Regions from separate parts of the Homo sapiens genome. Here regions 2, 3, 4, 5, 6 and 7 are each linked to region 1. Evidence: promoter capture Hi-C in 16 types of primary human blood cells and fetal thymus (Javierre and others, 2016). All regions are on one chromosome and are shown on one strand. Each heading gives the region's core, a stretch centred on a gene start or on the middle of the fragment in contact. The rest is flanking DNA. Distances are from core to core; before and after follow the strand shown.

Region 1 (3,193 bases), core at 404-2,903:
CTGGAGTCGGCTCAGAGCCTCCCGGGGCCCAGGTGTCTCCTGGTAGCAAAATTTTCTGAATTGCTGACGAAACAATTCTTGGCAGGATTGAGTACTCCCATTCTGCTTAAATTTCTCATCCCAGGAAAAGTTATCTTCTACTTTCACTAGTATTAGTTCTTGTTCCGGAGGATCCTGAGGTATCAGGGTTGAAATCACTCCAGATTCCACAGCCATTCTTGGCTGAAACAGCTTAGCAAAAAGCTCAGTACAACTGGTTCTGTGCTTGCGAAGGAGTGTGAGTAATCTCTTCTTTCCTGAAGGATATAAAAGCAGTTAACTTACAGCAATCAATAAAATCTCTAAGTACTTGTAATAAGAAAGATGAGTAACTTTAGTAATATATTGAAAGGGAGTAGATTTGGGGCTATCACTAAATAAAACAATAATGTGATGATAAACTAAAAATCATTAACCTCAATTAGTGTCTCCCATTATGAAGAATTCCTACCACTAATGTTAGAAAAAACTATTTTAGAAGCCTAAGAATGTGAATGCAACATTAACATCAATCACATAGTGAGAAAATTTCCTTTCCAATTCTTTCAATTCTGATTGTATCAAGGAGAAAAGTCTATCTTTAACATGTATGTATTAATAAAACTTGTAGAACTCTCTTTTAAATAAAATACAGGCTTCAGAATCAGACTTCCAAGAGTAAAAATATTTAGGCAGAATTTAGTAATACTGATTTTAAACATTTATTTTTACTTACTTTCTATCTAAAGCAAGTAATGTTGATTTTCATTTAAGGCAGTAATAACGTTTTTTTAAAAGTTCACATTAAACATGAGTTGATGTAAATATTGGATATTTGTCATTTGATCGCATTTGGTGTTTACCGAATTACTTCAACAAACACTGAGGCACTTACTGAGCATTAAGATTTTTGCTTATGAATAAACGAGTCTACAGAGGAATTGACCAAGAACCAAGACGTATCTGTAAAATGCTTACCATGTGTTCAAAAACATGATAGGTATCACATACACAAAAGCAGCAAAGAGATCCGTATCAGTTCTGAAAAAGCTTAGAATATCCCAAGACTAAAAATGTTCAAAAGCAAAATATGGTAACAAATAGGTATTAAATGTTGTGACACAGACCAAACTTGACCTGCTTTTAGGATGGCGAGATATCGATAGGAATGTATGCCCTTAGTTTGTCAGGACAGATGAGTAAAATTCATTCCTCACACTACGGTTAACGTTAAGAGATGAATTAAAATATTTAGCCTACAAATTTAAGGTTTAACCAGTCCGGCCGCACTAACTAACTAACTAACTAGCCCTTCTATTTTTATATCCTTGGTTAAACCGCAGCATTTACGAAGTCACGGGGTCAGCGGAACTGCGTTTTCCTTTGGAAAGCAGGAGTTTGAGTGCTGGCCTCCTCTGAGTTCCCCAGTCGCTTGGAGACGCCGCGCGGGCCAAAGGGCCGCGACCTGGGGATGGGCAGGCCGAGGAGCGGAGCTCCTCCACTGTCCGGCGCGCGCTCCCAACCCCACCTCCCTCTTCCTAGGGGCCCACGTCCCTCACCGCGAAGCCCAGGAGCGGCCAGGAAATGAGCCACCCACCCCGAGCTGCAAGCCACAAAGACCGGAAGTGCGCGTACGCAGTGTTCCGCTCTCGCGCCCTTCGGGTCCTCCGCCGCCCCGCCCCTTGCTCTGAGGTAGCCAATCAGAGCCGCGGGCTCTACAGTTTCCACCGCCTTCTCCCGGTAGCCGCTAGCCCGGCGGAATCTCCAAGGCCAGGGGAGGGTGCGCTAGGAGTCAGGGGTCCTTGTGAGCGGCGGCACCTGGAGGGTCCCGCATCTCGCCTGGGCCGTTCCCACCCTGGCTTTCTCCTGGCACCACCCATCATTGTTGGTCTCAAGTAATTCCCGAATCTCACTCCCAGTTTTCCATTAAAATATTCAGATTTTCGGCCGGGCGCGGTGGCCGAGGCGGGCGGATCACGAGGTCAGGAGATAGAGACCATCCTGGCTAACACGGTGAAACCCCGTCTCTACTAAAAATACAAAAATTTAGCTGGGCATGTTGGCGGGCGCCTGTAGTTCCAGCTACTCGGGAGGCTGAGGCAGGAGAATGGCGTGAACCCGGGAGGCGGAGCTTGCAGTGAACTGAGATGTGCTGCACTCCAGCCTGGGCGACAGAGCGAGACTCTGTCTCAAAAAAAAAAAAAAAAAAAAAACCTCAGATTTTCCTGTGATTCCAGTTCTTTTCCGACAAAAGTAAATGTAAGGATGAATAGGCTGAACAAAAACTAACAGTCACTTATATTGCTTTTGCCTATGAGTATCACTGGAGCCTTACAACAGTTCTGTGCTGTGGCTATATAATCCCAAATTTACAGCCGTAGACATCGCCCAAAGTCAGGCAACTTGTGACCAGGGACGTCCACGTCCCCATAGTTCAAGGAGACTGGTATCGTAGACTCCTGGAGCCTATCTTAGGGTCTTCCCGTTCTTCAGTGGAAGCTTGCTGGTATTGTCTCACTGTTTAAATTTTTCTTTGGCTATTTAGTCGGTGAAAAATGATGCCTCATGTTTCAACTTTGTGAGCTTAAGATAGTCCCCCTTCATGTTTACTGACCATTTATGGTTCTTCAGAGATGGCTTTTCCCATTTAAAAAATTAAGGGAGTAAGATTTTTCTTTTTTATTTGTGAGAATTTTTTGCTTATTAAGGATAGCAACTCGTTTGTTGCAAATCGTTTCCCATTTATTTGTATTTATTTTTAAAACGTTACATTTTACATGTTTAAATGTTACATATTTTTAAAATGTTATATTAAAAAAGTACACAGGATAATAACAAAGCGATACATACATACATAGAAACAAATTCTCCTTTGTGAGCCAAGACTTAAAACACATATTTGAGAAAAATGTTCGTTAGCATTCAAAGCTATTAGTGACTCACTAAATAATTTTATCATTGTGAAATGACTACAGCAATTTTACAAAGCAAAAAACCAAATAATATTAATTTGTTTATAAATTATCAATTGCTTCATAATGAACCACTTCAAGACTTAGTGACTAAAAACAGCAGATGTTTTATTGCTCACAGTTCTGTTGCCAGGAATTCAGGAAGGGCTTAGCGGAGATGGCTAGTCTGCTTTATGATGTGTCAGCTATCTTCACTTAACTGG
Region 2 (3,193 bases), core at 485-2,984, 480 kb before region 1:
TATTATTATTACTGATTCAATTTTGGAACTCATTATTGGTCTGTTCAGGGTTTCAATTTCTTCCTGGTTCAATCTTGGGAGGTTATGTGTTTCCAGGACATTATCCGTTTCATCTAGATTTTTCTAGTTGTGTACATAGAAATGTTCATAATAATCTCTGAGGAGTTTTTCTTATTTCTGTGGGGTCAGTTGTAATGTCACCTTTGTCATTTCCAATTGTGCTTATTTGGATCTTCTTTTTTCTTTGCTAATCTAGCTAGTGGTCTATCTTGTTTATTCTTTCAAAAAAACAACTTTTGGTTTGCTTGATCTTTTGTATGGATTTTTGCATCTAAATTTCTTTCAGTTCTGCTCTGATTTTAGTTATTTCTTTTCTTCTGCTAGTTTTGGTGTTGGTTTTGTCTTGTTTATCTAGTTCCTCTAGGTGTGGTGTTAGGTTGTTAATTTGAGATCTTTCCAACTTTTTGTTGTAGGCATTTGGCACTATAAACGTTCCTTTTACCGCTGCTTTAGGTGTATCCCAAAGATTCTACTATGTTGCATCTCTATTTCCATTAGTTTTAAATGATTTTTTTGATTTCTGCCTTAGTTTCATTCTTTACCCAAAAGTTATTCAGGAGCAAGTTGTTTAATTTCCATGTAATTGTGTAGTTTTGAGAGATCTTGGTATTGACTTCTATTTTTATTGCACTGTGGTCTGAGTGTGTGGTTGGTATGATTTCGATTTTTTTGAATTTATTGATACTTGCTTTATGGCATGTAGTCAGTCTTGGAGTATGTTCCATGTGCAGATGAGGAGAATGTATATTCTGTAGTTGTTGGATGGAGTATTCTCCAGATGTCTATTAGGTCCAACTGGTCAAGTATTGAGTTTAATTCCAGAATATATTTATTAGTTTTCTGCCTCAATGATCTGTCTAATGCTGTCAGTGAGGTTTTGGGTTTCCCACTATTATTATGTGGCTAAGTCTCTTCATAGGTCTATAAGAACTTGTTATGAATCTAGGTGCTCCAATGTTGTGTGTGTATATATTTATGATAGTTAAGTACTGCTGAATTGAACCCTTTATCACTATGTAATGCCCTTCTTTGTCCTTTTTTTATCATTGCTGGCTTCGAGTCTGTTTTTCTGATGTAATAATAGAAACTCCTGCTCTTTTTTGGTTTCTGTTTGCATGATAGATCTTTCTCCATTCTTTTAATTTGAGCCTATGGCTGTTGTTACATGTGAGATGGGTCTCTTAAAGACAGCAGACACTTGGGTCTTTTTCTTTTATCCAACTTGCCACTCTATGCCTTTTAACTGGGGCATTTAGTCTGTTTACATTAAAGGTTAATATAGATATGTGAAGATTTGATCCTGTTATTGTTGTTAGCTGGTTGTTATATAGGCTTGCTTGTGTAGTTGCTTTATAGTGTCTGTGGACTATGTACTTAAGTGTGTTTTTGTGGTGGCAGGTATTGTTCTTTCATTTTCATGTTTAGCACTTCCTAAGGACCTCTTGTAAGACAGGTCTAGCGATAATGAATTCCCTTAGCACTTGTGTGTCTGAAAATGGTTTTATTTCTCCTTCACTTAGGAAGCTTAGTTTGGTAAGATATGAAATTCTTGGTTGGAATTTCTTTTCTTTAAGGATGCTGGAAAGCAGGTCCCAACTCTTCTGGCTTGTAAGGTTTCTGCTGGAATGTCCACTGTTCACCTGAAGGGGTTCCCTTTGTAAGTGACCTGTTCCTTCTCTATAGCTGCCTGTAAGATTTTTTCTGAGGTGTTGACCTTGGAGAATCTGGTAACTATGTATCTCAGGGATGGTCATCTTATATAGTATCTCGCAGGGGTTCTCTAAATTTATCGAAGTTGCATGTTGACTTCTCTAGCAAGCTTAGGGAAGTTTTCATGGGCAATATCCTCAAACATGTGTTCCAAGTTGATTATTCTTTTTTCTCTTTCAGGAGTGCCAATTAGTCGTAAGTTTGGTCCCTTTTTATAATCCCATATTTCTGAGGTTTTGTTCATTTTTAAAGGTTCATTTTTTCTTTATTTTTGTCTACCTGAGTTTATTTGAAGGAGGAGTCTTTGAGCTGTGAGATTCTTTCCTCAGCTTCATCTATTCTGTTGTTAATGTTTCCAATTGTATTCTGAAATTCCTGTAGTCAATTTTTCAGTTCCTGGAGTTCAGTTTTGGTTCTTTCTTAAAAAGGTTATACCATCTTTCAACTCTTGTATTATTTTACTGTTCTCCTTGGATTGGGTTTCAACTTTCTCCTGTTTTTTTCTTTTTTATTTCTTTTTTTTTTTTTAGCTTCAACTTTCTCTCTTTTTTTTTTTTTAGCTTCCTTGCTATCTAGATTCTGAATTCTATGTCTGTCATTTCAGCCATTTCAATCTGGTTAACAGCCACTTCTGGGGAGCTTGTGCAATTGTTTGGAGGTAAGAAAACACTCTGGCTTTTAGAATTGCCGGAGTCCTTGTGCTAGTTCCCTCTCATCTGTGAGGGCTGGTGTTCCTTTATCTTTTGAAGTTGCTGTGATTTGGATGGGGCTTTTTATGGTCTTTATTTACCTTGAGGGTTTGACTGTAGTGTAAGTTGAGTATAGTTGATTGGCTTTGTTTCTGGATGCTTTTAGAGGGCCAAGGCTCTTCACAGGATTTTTATTTGTTGCTAGAACACTGCACTGGGTTTCACAGGCAATGAAAGCAGGAAGTATTTTTTGGTGGTGTAATTCAGGCTGCAATCAGTAGATTATGCTTAAGAGTAAGGGCTTGTACATCCCCAGGAAGCTACCAATGACTTTCTTCACAGAATTGGAAAAAAAAACTACTTTAAAGTTCATATGGAACCAAAAAAAGGCCACATTGCCAAGACAATCCTAAGCAAAAAGAACAAAGCTGGAGGCATCACGTTACCTGACTTCAAACTATACTACAAGGCTACAGTAACCAAAACAGCATGGTACTGGTACCAAAACAGAGATATAGACCAATGGAACAGAACAGAGCCCTCAGAAATAATACCATACATCTACAACCATCTGATCTTTGACAAACCTGACAAAAACAAGAAATGGGGAAATGATTCCCTATTTAATAAATGGTGCTGGGAAAACTGGCTAGCCATATGTAGAAAGCTGAAACTGGATCCCTTCTTTACACCTTATACAAAAGTTAATTCAAGAAGGATTAAATACTTAAATG
Region 3 (3,193 bases), core at 233-2,732, 460 kb before region 1:
AGAAGTTAAGCCAAATTAAAAAGAACCAGAGAAAGAAATATTGAAGATGTTGGTGCTGGTTCCAGAACCTGGCAAAAGCACAAGTTGAAAAATTAGGCAAATAGGTGGAAAGAGGTTTACCACGGATGCTTTAATTGAACTAATACCTTTTAAGTACTTCCATGTGAGCCCATTTGATGGTGGTGGAGAGAAAGGTTCCAGACAAAAGGAAAGATAAATAGGAAAGGTTCTGTCATATATGTCACTGGGAAATCATCACAAGCCAGAGAACTTTATTAATTAAAACTTATCTTTCACTGAAGTGTTTAATTAAGTAATTTTAAAAGCCTACTTTCTGCCTCATTTCTCCCAAACTAGACTATAGAACTTGAAGACATACAGAAGGAACAGTGGCTACTCAGTAAACAAGGACCCAGGGATTGGAGGCAACTGTGATTTTATAAGACTAAAATTTAATTATTAGGGAGATTAAAACACATTTATTTTACTTATTTTTCCCGCCTGTCAATATTTAGTGTATAAGACAAGTTTGATCCATATTCAAGGTCCACAAGAACTCATTCCTTTAGATATAAAGTATATAAATATACCCAGTGACACACATAATTTTATTACTATAGGCAACTGCATAACTTACCACTGGGTCATACTCCCAGAGTTGGTTGCCTTTTAGGTGGTGGCATTTGAGCATTGTAACTGGGCCATTAAGTTTGGAAACATCCAAGCAAAGGTCATCTGTTCTAATTTCTTTGTTGGCAGTATAAGAGAAAACCTGGAAATAAAAATGCACACACATAAACAGAAAAAATAAATTAGTCAGCATTTTAAATGCCCAATTAGCTGTCAGGGAAAATACAAGTATTTCAAGGTACATGATTTATGTACTTTATTAAAGTAATGAAGAATAAAGTGACTCAGAAAAGCTACCACTAATTTACATTGATGTTATGTTACTCATTTTCTTGCTTACAAGCTGAAGCAAAAATGACCTTGAGCTCTCTGTATACACTGAATGTATTGTCAAGGGTTGTCATCTGTTTGAATAAAAAGGGCAAAATAAATTTTGTGCTCAGCAATGTAAACATAGTTCTCACAATGGGCCTTTCACAAATGTTTCATTAAAAAAAAAAATCACTGGATTGAAAGCTTCCTTCACCTAAAAGTCTTTATTATTTTCTCTTTAAAGGAAGGAAAATATTTCCTGAATGATGTCATGGTATAAAAAAAAGGCAAAGTAAAAACAATCTGAAAATTATCCCTTTTAAGAGTTTTCTAAGATACTCACCTGATTACCCCCCATACCATGGCAATTAAAAATTCCAACTTTTTCATTCTCTTTTCTAGCCATGTTATCTAGACACTGATTCGTTTCCACATTTCGTATCTATGGGACAATAAATAATGAAAATATCAGGAGTTGGAGAAGTTAATTAGACAGACAGATACACACACATATACACTAAATATCAACCTAAACTTTCCCTGGCCCTACTCTGAAATGGCCTATTGGCCTATCGCTGTCTGAGTATCTAAAATTCATTGGTCTAGAAAGGTCTTACAACTGTTTATGTAATTTTCTGTGTTTATGGGGGAAAATCCTTACAATTTCTTTTTTCATTTTTTTCAAGTTATTCCTTTCAAATTTGTATTGAGTTCAACAAACTCTACTTTGGTTAATGATTTAAAAAATTAACTCCCTGATGACACTATTATCAATCAAGACAAGAACATTAATTCTGATAACTACTCTGATGACTTAGGAGAGACTAAGATGACTCTAGTCAAAGAGCTTGGAACTTGTCTTACCTGGAAGCTTAAGCATAGTGTGGTACAAACTCTACTCTTTCACTAGACATTTGTGGATTACATAAAAGGAATTTAAGTCAGTCATCAGAATTAGGAGGAATATTTTAGGTAATGCCCCTTGATATTTTGTTTCCTCTAAACTGTTGCAGTTTTAAAAGCATATGGTAAATTAACAGATGTTTGAAAGTCTTAAATCTATTCCTATGTACGGTACTGTCAGCAGGTTAAGCCAGAAGAGAAACTACATCTGTCATGTCATGTAGACTTTTTAAAAAAGGTAACTAATTTTGTGTGATAGATAAAGTAGGGGTAAAGTTAAAACCACAAAAAAGCCAGTTACTTCTATAAACACATATACAGTCTGCATATTATTCCAATATTCCCAAGCAGCCAGGAATAAAAACCAGGGTTCTGACATAGAAGACTCAGGTTTAAATACAAGTTACCTAAACCTTTTGAGATCAGGAACTGGGGGGGTAATGTCAGTTCTATGCTAATGTCAGTTCTGTGCTGATGCTATGTAAGACAATGTATCCAGGCACCTAATTCAGAGTCCAGCATGAACAGGCTCAGAGACAGTAATAATCTGCACTGTCACTTTATCACTAGTCACATCCATCTTGCTATTCCACCAAAATCTCAAACTCGGTTCGTTCAAAACAGAATTTCTCAATTTTCTAATATGAACACTTAATCATCTTCACATTTTAATACGTCCCCACCCCATCCCCTCTTGAGAAGTGCTACCTAAAACAAACCTCATTATCATTTCTCCAAAATTTCCCGTTTTCCTGATATCCCTATTTTTATTACTATTCCCACAACTTGTCCAATTATTCAAGCTAGAAATTTCAAAATGTTTTTTTCTCAGGGTCCAATACATTATATGTTTCCAAGAGTTCTTTTACCACATAATTTACATCATCATTTTTTATCCATTAATTGTGAAACCTATTCCCTCATAAATAGGTTGTGTTAGGTTGTATAAAAGATTTTATGGTAAAATACCAATTTGCATAAAGCACACCTTCCTTCATCCTGGTAGGTGATCAATTAATACCAGACGATGATGGCTATCTCACTTGAAAAAGAATTTCGCTCAGATTGGGCCAATCACAGTGACCCATGTCTATAACCCGAGCACTTTAAGAGGCCAAGACAGTAGGATCGCCTGAGCCTAGGAGTTCAAGACTTGCAACATAGCAAGACCTTGTCTCTACAAAAAATAAAAATACAAATCTTAGGCATGGTGGCTCACGCCTGTAGTCCCAGTTATTCGGGAGGCTGAGGTGGGAGGATCACTTGAGCCCAAGAGTTCAAGGCTGCAGTAAGCTATAATTGTGCCACTGCACTTCAACTTAAGTGACAGAGCAAGGCCCTGTCTCTT
Region 4 (3,193 bases), core at 378-2,877, 400 kb before region 1:
TATGGTAACCCAAAACAAATCCATACAAGTGTGAAAAACTAAAAAGATGCTACTACAAAGAAAATTGGTGCAGGGACAAGTGGCTTTCCATATAATTAAAAAATAAACTTGGATCCTACCTTATAGCAATATAAAAGTGAATATGTAGAAAGATAACTGAAGCCAAAATTGTCAAAACCAAGTAGCAGCTATTCTGGCTTACCCCTAGTAGCCAAAGTGAGTACGGCTCCAGTCTCGTAGGCTTCAATTTATATTCCCAGCTTCCTATAAAGTGTTCAGGCCAATACTTCTGCCACAGTTTTTGAGCTGTCAAGTGGTTACTGATCGAAATTTAGCACTGAGAAGCCTTATTCGATAGCCAAAGAAAAAGGAGAACCAATTTTCAGGTCTTGGAATCTTCTTATTCAACATAAGTATTTAACAAAAAATTAGCAAATAATCAATCCAAAATTCCTGCCCAGATTGATGTCCACATTCCATTAAAACCTGGATATTCTCTTTCTGTAGTTATTTCCCGGGTGTTATCTCAAGTTTAGAGGTCAGAAGAACAAGCTTATCATTTGGGGTAGTCATGATGTAAATAAACTCCTATAAAATTTATTGGCTCGAATGTTTCAAATTAGAGAATACAGTGTTTAGTGTCTTGAGTGGAATGTCAGTTTTTAAGATGACAAACTGACTTCCACCAATACCTTTAAAAGTTTATATTTTTCCTGTTTGTAAAGTAATGTATGTTCAAAACAAAGAACCTGGCAAACAGAAAAGCAAAAGATACAAACTCCCTACAAATTTGCATCCCAATGAAACACCAATGGGTTAAATGCCCTTCCAGTCATTCAGAATAGTAGATATGTGTTTTTTTTTCTTTTTTTTTTTTTGAGTCAGTCTCACTCTGTTGCCCAGGCTGGAGTGTAGTGGCACGATCTCGGCTCACTGCAAGCTCCACCTCCCCGGTTCACGCCATTCTCCTGCCTCAGCCTCCCGAGTAGCTGGGACTACAGGTGCCTGCCATCAGCCTCCCGAGTAGCTGGGACTACAGGTGCCTGCCACCACGCCCTGCTCATTTTTTGAATTTGTAGAGATGGGGTTTCACTGTGGTAGCCAGGATGGTCTCGATCTCCTGACCTCGTGATCTGCCTGCCTCGGCCTCCCAAAGTGTTGGGATTACAGGCGTGAGCCACCGTGCCCAGCCAGATATGTGTTATGTTTTAAACCAAGTTTGTAACATCTATTTAGACTCAAGTACTTAATGCCTTAAATGTCCTTATGGGAAGAAGGGAAGGAGACAGGTGTGACTATAAAGTGGTAGGAGAGCTGATCATGCTGTATTTTTATTTTTAACAGGTAATAATATGCTCAACAGACATTTCTAACCCCTCTTCCCACCTCGGCCATGTCTCAGTGCCATGTCTTAGGCAACATCTTAGCGTTAACATCAAAACAGCCCTGATATCCACACAAAGGTGTGACAAAATGCCACACATATTGCTTTACAATTAATACATATGTAACCATTACAAACAGAAGTGGCTGCCGGGCTCATGATTCTGACCCTTAACCTCTCCTCCCCTCCTCAAAAGGTTTCTTCTGGTAACAGATCCAGTTGCCTGGCCACAGTATGACCTAGCCAGGCTGACCACAGGACCTGACTCCTTGGCCTGAGTCACAGACCTGGAAGGCTGTGCTCTAGGACTGCGCTCAGTCACACTGCCCCCGACATGGAGAAGGCCACTTGCAGCCAAAAACAATGTGGCCAAGCAGAGACATACAGATGAGTGGCAGAGCACCCTGACAGTGACCAAGTCCCTGACTCTTCCTTGGCTTCAGTGACCCAACGAGGAATCCTATTAGTCCCCTTTTCTGCTTAAGAAAATCTGAATTGGGTTCCTGACACAACCAGAATGCTTGGGGAACCAGGGAAGAGGGGGCAATAGGTAAAAAGCAGCTTCTAGTCTGCTGATGAGCTTCCACTCTGTGGGTCATAATTATATATTATGAGACAGACTATACTATTTGAAAAGATACTTTTTAATGCCCCAGATCACAAAAACTTATAAAATATCAAAAGAGTACGTATAAAACATGTCACGGAAATAAATGATCACAACACAACACACATCTCCACCACCTGGTTTAACAATAAGAACATGATTTTTAAAGTTCCCTCTCAAATCCCATCTCTTCCCCAACTCTTCAAAGGCAATCCCTATTCTTACGGTCCTTCCTTGTCCTGATAATTTAACCTCACGAGTATCTTTAACAATGCCTTATTTATACTTGACTGTTTCTGAAGTGCTTATAAGTGGAAAAACCTGACTTGCTTTTTTCTAACACTGTTTCTGAGATTTATCCATATGCTTGGATCCATCCATGCATCCAATTCCATTTCACTACTGAATAGTATTCCGCTGGCTTAGCAAACCTATTTCTCTACTCTTAACAGACATTTGGGTTCTTTCTAGGTTTCCGTTATTACAAGCAATACTGCTATGACCATTCCTGAACATGTCTACTAGTACGCATGTGCAAGAGTATTTATTTAGAGAAGAGGTCAGTAAATATTTTCTGCAAAGGGCCAGATGATAAAGATTTCAGGCTTTTTGAGTCATGCAATGTCTGTTGCAACAACTTAACTCTAGTGTTGTACCATGAAAGCATCTGTAAGAGGTACATAAATGAATGTGACAATATTCCAAGCTTATTTTTGGACACCAAAATTTGAATTTCATATAATTTTCACACTATAAATTACAAAATATTATTTTTTTTAAGCACTTAAAAATGTTAAAAACCATTCTTAACTCATGAGTCATCACACCGACCCCTGATCTAAAGTATATACGTATGGTTGTTAGGTGGCACAGTATGCATATTTTCAATATGATCAGATATCACCAATTTGTTTTCCCAGGTGGCTGAAACCACCCACCAGATGTGAACTGTTATATCACTGCACGTGGTGGATGTGTTATATCGTTGACAACACTTATTACTGTCAGACATTTTTATTTTTGACAATCTGATGTAATTGGTATCTTAATATAGTTTTAATTTGCATTTCCCCACCATCTCTGGCATTACTGATCATTCCATTTCCTCTTCTCTAATATGCCTACTGAAGTTCTGCTCTACTAGATGTGTTGTTTTGTGTTTTTCTTGTTAGTCTGTGAAGATCCTAATGTAGCCTTGTGTG
Region 5 (3,193 bases), core at 234-2,733, 370 kb after region 1:
TAAACGTTTTATGAGTGTTCTTTTTATGGTTCCTTCAATAAATCTTAAAGATACACAAAGAAGAAAGAGGGTAGGATAACTTCAATTCAAGTTTTGTAAAAAAAAATTTATTGCTTGTGATATCATAATCATCACATTATATTACAGGCACTATTTTTTTTAATTCATGTTCTCTCCTCGAGAGGGATAAATTCATGCATTACCTCTAACAAGAAACAATGTAAGTAGAAATTATATATGCCAGTATAATAAAACACTACATTGAACCACACAGACTTATGATAAAGCAAGTAGAGGTTATTAAATCCAGCACAATTTGTTGTGTGGGGGTGTTCTAAGTTTGGTTTTACAAAGACAATGTCCCCAAAGGGGAGAAACACTCATAAATAAAAACAGAATTTAGAAGCAGATGCCAGTCTAAAACCTCTAAATTCTCTCCTTAGATCATGTTTTACCATGAGAAGTCTATATTTGGACAGCATTTGTTTATTTCCTTGCAGAACCGCCTCTATAGGGCTGGGATTGATAAGGTTCTGCTTTTAATTTTGACTGAGGTCAGTATAAGAAACAGCCACATGAAATCTATGACTGCTTTTTTTCCTTTTCTATCGTCCAGTACTCCTATAAAGCTCCCAGTGAAGACTTTCTTTCATATTTTATGCCAACAGAAATTTTGTTCCCCTGAGAAGTGGTATTTCTGTACTGATAAAACCACCGATAATTTTCCTTTTTTTTTTTTTTTTGCTTCATTGCCAGAACATGCAGAGTAACATCCTTGTCCCTTAAGATTAGCATATTCACATTTTATTTTCTTTAGTTTTTGATTTTTCTATTTCAATTTTATGAAGTCACTGTTTATATCTTTTGTTGTAAGCTGCCTCAGGTCCTTTTTGAAAAGAGGCTTGTGTATAAAAGCAAAAAAGATAAATAAGTGAAATAGGCAAACTCTGCCACTACCCAGACGATGTATTGCTGACATCTGGGTGACGTGGGCCCTGGTCCTTGGGTACCGACACCGCAGTACCCGCTGTTGGCCCCCTGAGATGCAGAAGCTGCTGAGGGGCTTGGTGGAGAGGAGCTGGAAGGTGAGGGGGCAGTGGCGCCACCTTGGGGGCACTGCCACAGTTTGGCTCTGTGCATCCATCTGTTTACGAACTTCCTGGTCCATAGGAGCCTTTCAAGATCCTGCTGCCTGGGAAATGGCCTGGAAAGTATCCCCAAGGGAAATGGCTAAAGCAAGGCTGATGACGACAGGATGATTGCCCTCTCTCTCTGCTAGGAGGAGGGAGGTTATAATTGAACCTTATTTCCTTTTTCTATGCACATGCTAAATAAGAGACAGGAGAGGAAAGAAGCCATTTGCAGAGAAGTATCATGAAGAAGGCATTTTTCTTTACCATGATCTAAGTGTATTGGAAATACAATAGCAATACCCCATGTATGCATTCATGGGCAATTATACAGGCTGTATGTGTTATGTGTCCTTCACCCAGGGGGACTGTCTTCTGTTAAAATTTGACTTTAATTTAGTAAAGTAATTTTTTTCACAAAATACAAAATAATGTAATACATTATCTTTATTGTCTGACATTACAGATTGATTTTACACTTTCCTTTTTTACAGACCATGGGAATGAAGGGTAAAAATGTGTCCAGCATTTTCCAAACATTCTTTGTTACACACAAACACACATAATGAATAATAGAAAAGAGCATACAGAAGAAATGAAAGATACGTTGAAATTGGACAGGTTGTGGTTCTAATTGATCCATGGAAATAATGTGAAACTTTTAAATAATGCTAGTGAGTGGGATATATTGTCATACATAGCGTGGTACATGCACTTGAAATTAAAGCTGCTTTTATTTTGCTTCTATTTAATTTAATTTAATTTAATTTAATTTGTTTTTTTTTTTGAGTTTGCTGCTCCCCCTGCTGGCTCTTGAGCCTGACCACAGGTTCAGACAGCTCCAGTTTAGGCTATAAAGTCACAATGCCCCTATTTCCAGAAAAAAAAAAAAGTATGTAATGACCCTCTCGTCTCCCGGAGCCGAAAGGCTCTGGTGCTAAGGAAAAAGCTGAGAGTTACTTTTTAAAAAGAGATTACTGTCAACCAACAGTAAGGATTCTGCTTTGGGGAAGAGCCAAAAAGATGGGACGTGAATAGTCAGTTATGGAGTACAGTCTTTCTCTCACAAAATTGAGCACATTTTGGTGAGCCATGGGGAACAAGGCTCAATAATTGTGTGATGAAAAGGGATTTAATTGCCTGATTTTTATAAAAAGAGGTTTCACAGGTTTTCAGTAAAATGAAACCGAACTGAATACTCACAGTGTGAGTGGGTGTAGAGGTTAGCTTCTGAGTGCTGTGGGTTTTGGGATGACATGAACCTCAGGGTATCTCTAGTGACTGTGGTATCTCTCTGTTAAGAGAAGGGTCTGATCAACAACTTGAAAAGCTAAGACTGGTTTGAAACTTATACCTCTGGGGATCTAAAATGTTTCCAATAAATGACAATTCGTTCCCTTTTCTAAAAGATGTCATAGTTCTTCTTTTGATGTGGATAGTAGTGATAGTTATAAAAAATGCTAAATTTATATATCTCAATTCAAGCACTACATTGAAAAAGAAGCAAATTAGTATGACTTTTTTCTCTTTCCAAACTGAAGCATGAACATACATTAGAGCAAAAGCAATGAGAAAACCGCAGGTCGGCAGGCCCCTCCACTGTTAGTTAAGACCTGCAGTAGGGGACATAACTTACTCCCTGCTTCAGTTCTTCTTCCTACAGAAAGATTGAATCAATAACAGTTAGATTACCCAGGGTTCCAATAAGAGCATGTACACAGTGTGAAGGAACGCAAGATGGGGAAACATCAACACACCTTTGACGGCAGGTCCAGGCCTCTGCCACCTCAGTGACTATCACTCCAAGTCTACTTGGTTATTTGAGACTACAGGCCCATCTCTTTTCTCTGCATGTACAACCATTTTTCAACACAATCCACCTCTCTGTCCTGGTATGTGTACATCTCAATAAAAGGCAGTACTCTGTTAGGCTAGGTTGATACCAACATGGCTGGTGGTGAATAGACTTCTATCCCATAGGGAAAGAGTCATAGCTAATGGTGACAGAAGCAATAGAAACATAGGGGGCAGTTTTCAAAGCTTCCTGTCATTCACTGAGGGGA
Region 6 (3,193 bases), core at 294-2,793, 370 kb before region 1:
GTTTTTTGCTTTTTCCTAGTTAAACCCACTGACAGCTTTCAGGGAGCTTCAGCTTTACACAAAGGTCTCTGGATCTTACTTAGCAACTGCTTGATCCCTAGACACCGTCTGGTACCCTATGGCCACCCTGCAAAAGCCAAAGTTCTGGGTTTTGAAGGACTTACAAATACCAGAACCCTCAGCACGGGAGCCAGTATCACTACTAACTTACCTCCCTGGATTCAAGATTTCTTGTTCTGGGCCTCTGGAAAGTTTCCTTACCTCTTGTCAGCTCAACGATGCATTTAAAAGATATTTTGAATATTAAGTCCAGTATTTTTAACATTTCATAATGTGGGACCTTTTTTTTAACCTCTACTCTGCCACGCTGCCAGAAACAGAAGCCTCTTAAAGTTTTGAATAGTCTGCTGAGTATTTTTCCCCAAAAGAAATGTACATCCACTTCTAGAAGCCAAAGGAAAAGCAATTCATTGAATTAACAAATATATTCTAGGCACTCAGTACGTATCAGTAAACTAAACAAAGATCAATGCATTCAAAGCACTTCTGTAGGAGCAGAGTAGGAGACAGGAAATAATAAACATAAGTAAACTAGATTATAGCACAGAAGGTATTGCAATGGAAAGAAAGAAAAATTGAGTAGTCAGGTAGGGAGGACCATGAGTGCCTGGTGGAGAGGAGCTGCGATCTTAAACAAGGTAGCTATTACTAAAACATTTCTTACTTCCCTATAACATACCACTGATTAATTTTTTTAAACATAAAATTTTAAGAAACTATGGGTACTTTCCTCCTCTCCTGGTGTGAGGTATGATGGAGAGCTGCCTACGGATTTTTTTTTTTTTGAGACAGAGTTTCATTCTTGTTGCCCAGGCTGGAGTGCAATGGTGCGATATTAGCTCACTGCAACCTCCACCTCCTGGGTTCAAGCAATTCTCCTGCCTCAGCCTCTCGAGGAGCTGGGATTACAGGCACCTGCCACCATGCCCAGCTAATTTTTTGTATTTTTAGCAAAGACAGAGTTTCATCACGTTGGCCAGGCTGGTCTTGAATGCCTGACATCTGGTGATCCATGCCTTGGCCTCCCAAAGTGCTGGGATTACAGGCGTGAGCACCACGCCCGGCCTAGAAAGGTTAATACTACATGACTCCATCTACTTCAAAGAAATTGGGGCACACTTTAATATTAATTGGAAATGCTAAAAAATTTATGATGCTATTTGTTCAAAAAAATTAAACAAATATAAAAATAAACACGATAGGCTTAGAGTGAAGCTTTTACTGAAAAAATGGTTAAATTAGCAGACTTATCTTTCACATTTCTAAAGATAATTAGAATTTAATTAGTATCACTATTAGGCAGTTCTTTTGAATTTTAAACCTAATCCAGAAGGCAAATTGTCCAATTATATCTCCTTCTATCTTTCATGGAGATGTACCCTATTTTTAACTCATTAAAACAGGTTTTTTCTCTTTTCATAAGAATCATGTGTGAAGTTATTAAATCACATCTTAAAAATATTTAAATCCAAACCTAAGACAGTATTTTGCAGCCTTATAATTATTTTCATTACTTTTCCCTTTATCTCTCAATTTTTCCTTCTCTTAAAATGTAGACAACAAAGCTAGAGCTCATATTTTATATAAACACTGTGATATAATTACATATAATAAATGATGTCTTTTTTAATGATACAGGTAATAAATAATGATGGTAATGAGGACACTTTATATTGCCTGTCAGATAAAACTCCCAAAGGGCAAGGCCTACAAATTTAGAGACAGGATTTTTGTGTAAAAACAGAAGCTTTGTGGGAAACTTTTGTCAGGATCCTTTTTTCAAGACAAAAAAGATTAGAAACAGTTTTACACAGAAACAAAACAGACTGAGTTAAGAATGTTTCCCAAGGCAGTCAAACACTGCATTTACCACAACAACGTATTACCATTAGCTGGTGGTGGTGCTGCCTAACACAGGGTCCAAGCTCTAGGCAGCCTCTGGCCAGCTGCCATTCCCTCCACTCTCAAGACCATGAGAATTCCTCCTGCATTTGGCACATACAATTAGATTACCAATTCCCAATATTAAACTTCCTCCACATCCTTACTTTTGTCTGATTACATATTGGACCTTGATTGAATTTTATTTTACATACTCTCAGATGTATAAAGAGAGCAAATTGTCTTTTAAAAACCTGAGTTAGATAACATTCGATTACATAAATATTTCTCTAAGGTTGCTGCAAATTATAGCAAATTTTCTTACTGACTTATATAAAATATTAAAAAGCTATTAAATAAAATACCTGAAAGTTAAACTATGGCACAGGGTGGAAAGTCTCTGCAGTATGTTCAACTGCCTCACTTTCTCTCACACAGTATTCCTGCCTTAGAGGTATCAATCCCTTGGCCAATTTAGTAGCTCAGCCAAAAAATGAGAAAAAAAGTGAAAGCATGGCTCCAGGGACCTTCCCCTGCTCCCGAATCCGTATTCCCACCACATATGCACTTTAACCAAAACAGCTCCACCTTTATCTTTTCTATGCATTGGAACTTGTTAGGAGATATTTGAAAATATACTCCTGCTACTAAAAAGTTTGAAAATCATCCACCTACAGCAGCAGTTCTGAAAATGTAGTACAAAGACCCCCACCCTATCCAACTCAAGGGGTCATCAAGACCCTTTCAAGGGGTCTGCAAGGTCAAGACTATTTTTATACTATGCCAAGTCACCATTTGCCTGTTTACTGTCATTCCCTCCTAAGCATGTGGCTGAGGTCCAGAGGCTACATGATATGCAGTATCAATAGACTGAATGGAAAAAAGAGGGTATGAGAATCCAGCTATGAGAAGCCAGACACTAATGGGATTTACACAAATGTCAGATAATGCCACACTTCTCACTTTTTTTGTTTTGGAAAAGTTATTTTTCATAAAAATGTTTATATTAACATATCACAAGTCTATTATTTTAAATAAATTATTTTTAAATGTCTAGGTTATCTTTAATTTGGTAAATATCAATACATATGAACCCACAAAACAAACTCTTCGGGGTCTTCAGTAATTTCTAAAAGTGTAAAAGGGTTTAGAGAACTACTGGATTAAGAACAATTAACTCACAGAAGAAAATTCAAAATCCATAATAAAAAAATCCACTTATATTCCCATCACAAACATTTATTAAATGCCA
Region 7 (3,193 bases), core at 185-2,684, 350 kb before region 1:
ACTTGTTCTTCTCCGTCTGCAGGAAGTTGCCTCCTAGTACACTTAACCAGCCTTCTAGTTTAATGTGCTCAGCTTCCAACACAGAAGTCATATTACCTTTGTAATAAGGTACTCTTTGACACACAAAAAATCCCTCACTTCATTGGACCTTTCAGCCTTACATACAATCTCTAACCCTCAGTAAGTTCTACTCTTCACTTTTTCTGCTTCAACTTCTAGGATAGTGGCATTAGAAAGTTCTGAAACACTGGCAAGGTCCCCTGTAAACCTACACTAACTAGCCAGACCAAGCCTTACTATTCTTTACAGCTCCTCTCCTGGACCCCCTCTCTCACCCTCTACCTTCCCTTGTGCACATCCTCAGACCAGCCAACATAGTCCTTGCCTCTCTACAGAGAAATCCCACCTCATCAGACCGGAGTTCCTTCCACCTCACTTTTACCTCACACTCCCTTGTTCCTCTGAGTTTTTTCTCCTTTTTAAGGATAATACTCTTTATTTGTACACTTAATTACATTCCTTTTCAAAGCCTTAGAAGCCTTGCTCCACAAATAACTCCTCTTCTCTTTCACATTCACCAACCAATGCCATCAGCCCTTTCTCCCAAGGTAACTTTCAGGCAAAGTTATGCCAGAGACAAGGGTTTTGTCCCCTACTCCTGCCCCCGCCCCCCGCCCAAAGAAAAGATTTAAAAACTGATTTAACTGCCAAAATCAGGACATTGCACTTGAAAAATCAAGATTTGTATTATAGGCTGGGCACGGTGACTCACTCCTGTAATCCCAACACTTTGGGAGGCTGAGGTGGGTAGATCACCTGAGGTCAGGAGTTCAAGGCCAGCCTGACCAACATGATGAAACCCCCGTCACTACTAAAAATACAAAACTTAGCCAGGTGTGATGGCACGTGCCTGTAGTCCCAGCTACTCAGGAGGCAGAGACAGGAGAATAGCTTGAACCCGAGAGGCGGAGGTTGCAGTGAGCCCAGATCGCGCCACTGTACCCCAGCCTGGGTGACAGAGCAAGATTCCATCTCAAAACAAAAAAGACTTGTATTCTAGCTTCTCTGGTTTAAAAAAAAAAAATTATCTGCCACCACTGACTGAGCATACCCAAAGAGCAAAATCCTAGTAGGTGATTAGCTGCCCTCTTGCAATGGGGTGCTTGCCATCTCCAGTCACCACAGTTGACCTTCCTTGTCCCCCGTCACCCCTCAGTGACTCTCATATACCTTACTACCCTGACTCAACATAACCTACGACCTACTAATAATAGGTTCTGCTCCTTCCTATCCTAAAAACCACTTGCCTCAACTACCCCGAATGCAAGCTACAATCTCCTCCTTTCTCCTCTCCCAAATACTTCCTCAGGGAATGGTCTACATTTGCTGTCACTCCTATCCCCTGGTAATAGATTTCTGCTCTTCCGCCTCTGCTAAAACTACAGAGAGCAGAGAAAGAATCTTTTCACCCTCCTGCCTGTTCAGCAGCACTGGACATCAGCAACTGTCTTCTTTATAAGGCCTCCTCTATTGGTTTCCTGACTCTGCCCTCTCTAATCCTCCTAATGAGGAAATCACGTAGACCTCCCTATGGTTCAACACCTGAAAACACCTCCGTGTGCCACATAGATTTCTTCAGTGCTTCCTCCTCACAAGTCCCAGACATGCAGCATCCTCCTTCTCCCGTGGAACCCTGCCCACAGCCTCCCACGTCTTGCAACTCCTCTCAAGGAAAAACAACAACAACAACAGGAAAACAACCTCAGTATGAAGACAAGTACATTGATTTATTCAACATTTACTGATCACTTTTCAGGTGGTAGGCAGACCAGTAAGAGAAGGTCCTTATCCCTACATAAGGGATTCACAGTCTAAAAGGGGCAAGGATAAACAGAGAGGGGTAACATGATACATATGATGATAAAGAAAAACAAAGGTACTAAGGTGAAGGCCAGAAGAGCTTGCTGAGACAAACACCAGAGCCTGATCCCCAGCCTCAGACATATCCACTACCACCATTTAGTCCAGGCCTCCTGCAAGAGCTTCCCAACTGATCTCCATGCCTCCCCTTTACCCATCCCACCCTCTCACCCAAATCCATTCTCCACACTGCAGCAGGGGTGATCTGCTTAAAATCAGGAGCAGAGCTTTCTCCTACTCAAAACCTTTCAACAGCACTGAGAATGAGGTCTTGCATCAGCTATACCATGCCAATTTTCCTACCTTCATCTCACCCCACCCCCATCCCTTGCACCAATGGCCCTTCAGCCACACTGGTATTTCAGTTCCTTAAACAGAATGAGTCCTCTTTGCTACACAGTCTCTGTGCATAGCATTCTTTTTTACCAGAATCCTCTTGCCCATACTCTTTGTATTATTAAAATCTTTTTGACCTCTGGGTCTCAGCTGAAATGTCATTTCTCCCATTGTTTACTTAATTGTTTCTATTTTTATCTTCCTCATTAAATTGTATGATCAACAAAGACAGGATCTATGTCTGTTTAGTTCCCATTGTAGTCACAGTGCCTGGCACAAACAGATACTCAATAAATATGTGCCCAGTGAGGATGTAAAAGTCACTTTCCTCATCCGGGCCCGTAACTGTAAGTATCCCCTCAGGTTTATTCCTCAGCCCTTTCTACCACTCCCTGTTTTCATCATTTCAATGCTGATGATGCTCATCTGCACCTCCAGACCTGACCTCTCCCAACAAGATGCAGTGCTCCAACTATGAAGCCTACAGGACAGTTCCACCTGGAATCCTTCTCTGACACCTGCAACTGGATATGTACCAAGACACATTCATTAACTCTTCTCAAACTCTGTTTTTTTCCATTGCTGTTAATGGTGACACCCCTTACAAATCAAGTGATTGACTTATTTTTCCTTCACCCATTGACGAGACCATCTGATTCCATTTCTAAAAATGCACCTGTATGCTCCTGCATACAAAGTCATGTGAAGTAGTGCATTAGCCTCATTTCCTACCTCTAGTCTTTTGAAATAGCAATCACTCACCTACATGTATGTTAAAGCTTAATTCTGATTATGTCAATCAATGCCCTCGTCAAAATCCTTCAACAGCTCCCTCCTGCATTCCAAAGAACATCCATACTCTTTTTGTTGGTATTCAAAGCCCCTCTCAATCTTTCCCAAACTATCCGAGCAAGGTAGTCTAGTTAAACAGTTAAGA

Evidence for each region. Contacts are between HindIII fragments. The CHiCAGO score rates a contact against its expected background, and 5 or more counts as called.
Region 2: a fragment that was not itself captured here is called in contact with the fragment with the promoter of ZNF397 in region 1 in 1 of 17 cell types (erythroblasts); the score reaches 5.4 in erythroblasts.
Region 3: a contact is called between a fragment that was not itself captured here and the fragment with the promoter of ZNF397 in region 1, in 1 of 17 cell types (endothelial precursors). The highest score is 5.4, in endothelial precursors.
Region 4: a contact is called between a fragment that was not itself captured here and the fragment with the promoter of ZNF397 in region 1, in 2 of 17 cell types (erythroblasts and total B cells). The highest score is 5.2, in erythroblasts.
Region 5: a fragment that was not itself captured here is called in contact with the fragment with the promoter of ZNF397 in region 1 in 1 of 17 cell types (megakaryocytes); the score reaches 6.9 in megakaryocytes.
Region 6: a fragment that was not itself captured here is called in contact with the fragment with the promoter of ZNF397 in region 1 in 3 of 17 cell types (total CD4 T cells, total B cells and erythroblasts); the score reaches 5.6 in total CD4 T cells.
Region 7: a contact is called between a fragment that was not itself captured here and the fragment with the promoter of ZNF397 in region 1, in 5 of 17 cell types (total B cells, total CD8 T cells, activated CD4 T cells and 2 more). The highest score is 7.9, in total B cells.

The regions. Positions count from the first base shown.
Region 1 is chr18:35,239,494-35,242,686 of GRCh38, reverse strand. It overlaps ZNF397 (zinc finger protein 397), which reads right to left and starts at 1,653. Exons shown (of 4, transcript NM_001135178.3): 1 at 1,578-1,653; 2 at 1-296. The coding sequence starts at 216. RefSeq lists a silencer at 1,472-1,601 and enhancers at 1,391-1,916, 1,862-1,971. The HindIII fragment of the contact is 1,449 bases long and covers 1,071-2,519 here.
Region 2 is chr18:35,723,663-35,726,855 of GRCh38, reverse strand. The region is part of intron 1 of LOC105372064 (a long non-coding RNA gene); the gene reads left to right. Among named protein-coding and RNA genes, the nearest start is that of MIR3975, 130 kb to the right of the region's middle. The HindIII fragment of the contact is 295 bases long and covers 1,587-1,881 here.
Region 3 is chr18:35,701,088-35,704,280 of GRCh38, reverse strand. It overlaps GALNT1 (polypeptide N-acetylgalactosaminyltransferase 1), which reads right to left. Exons shown (of 12, transcript NM_020474.4): 10 at 1,286-1,384; 11 at 638-772. The region is part of intron 2 of LOC105372064 (a long non-coding RNA gene); the gene reads left to right. Among named protein-coding and RNA genes, the nearest start is that of MIR3975, 110 kb to the right of the region's middle. RefSeq lists an enhancer at 882-1,176. The HindIII fragment of the contact is 667 bases long and covers 1,149-1,815 here.
Region 4 is chr18:35,641,481-35,644,673 of GRCh38, reverse strand. All of the region lies in intron 1 of GALNT1 (polypeptide N-acetylgalactosaminyltransferase 1), which reads right to left. Among named protein-coding and RNA genes, the nearest start is that of MIR3975, 51 kb to the right of the region's middle. The HindIII fragment of the contact is 2,145 bases long and covers 555-2,699 here.
Region 5 is chr18:34,865,705-34,868,897 of GRCh38, reverse strand. All of the region lies in intron 17 of DTNA (dystrobrevin alpha), which reads right to left. Among named protein-coding and RNA genes, the nearest start is that of DTNA-AS1, 100 kb to the right of the region's middle. The HindIII fragment of the contact is 3,379 bases long and covers 1-3,172 here.
Region 6 is chr18:35,610,518-35,613,710 of GRCh38, reverse strand. All of the region lies in intron 1 of GALNT1 (polypeptide N-acetylgalactosaminyltransferase 1), which reads right to left. Among named protein-coding and RNA genes, the nearest start is that of MIR3975, 20 kb to the right of the region's middle. The HindIII fragment of the contact is 532 bases long and covers 1,278-1,809 here.
Region 7 is chr18:35,591,569-35,594,761 of GRCh38, reverse strand. The region is part of intron 1 of GALNT1 (polypeptide N-acetylgalactosaminyltransferase 1); the gene reads right to left. MIR3975 (microRNA 3975) reads right to left here and starts at 3,025; the gene lies at 2,956-3,025. RefSeq lists an enhancer at 2,371-2,490. The HindIII fragment of the contact is 3,207 bases long and covers 1-3,037 here.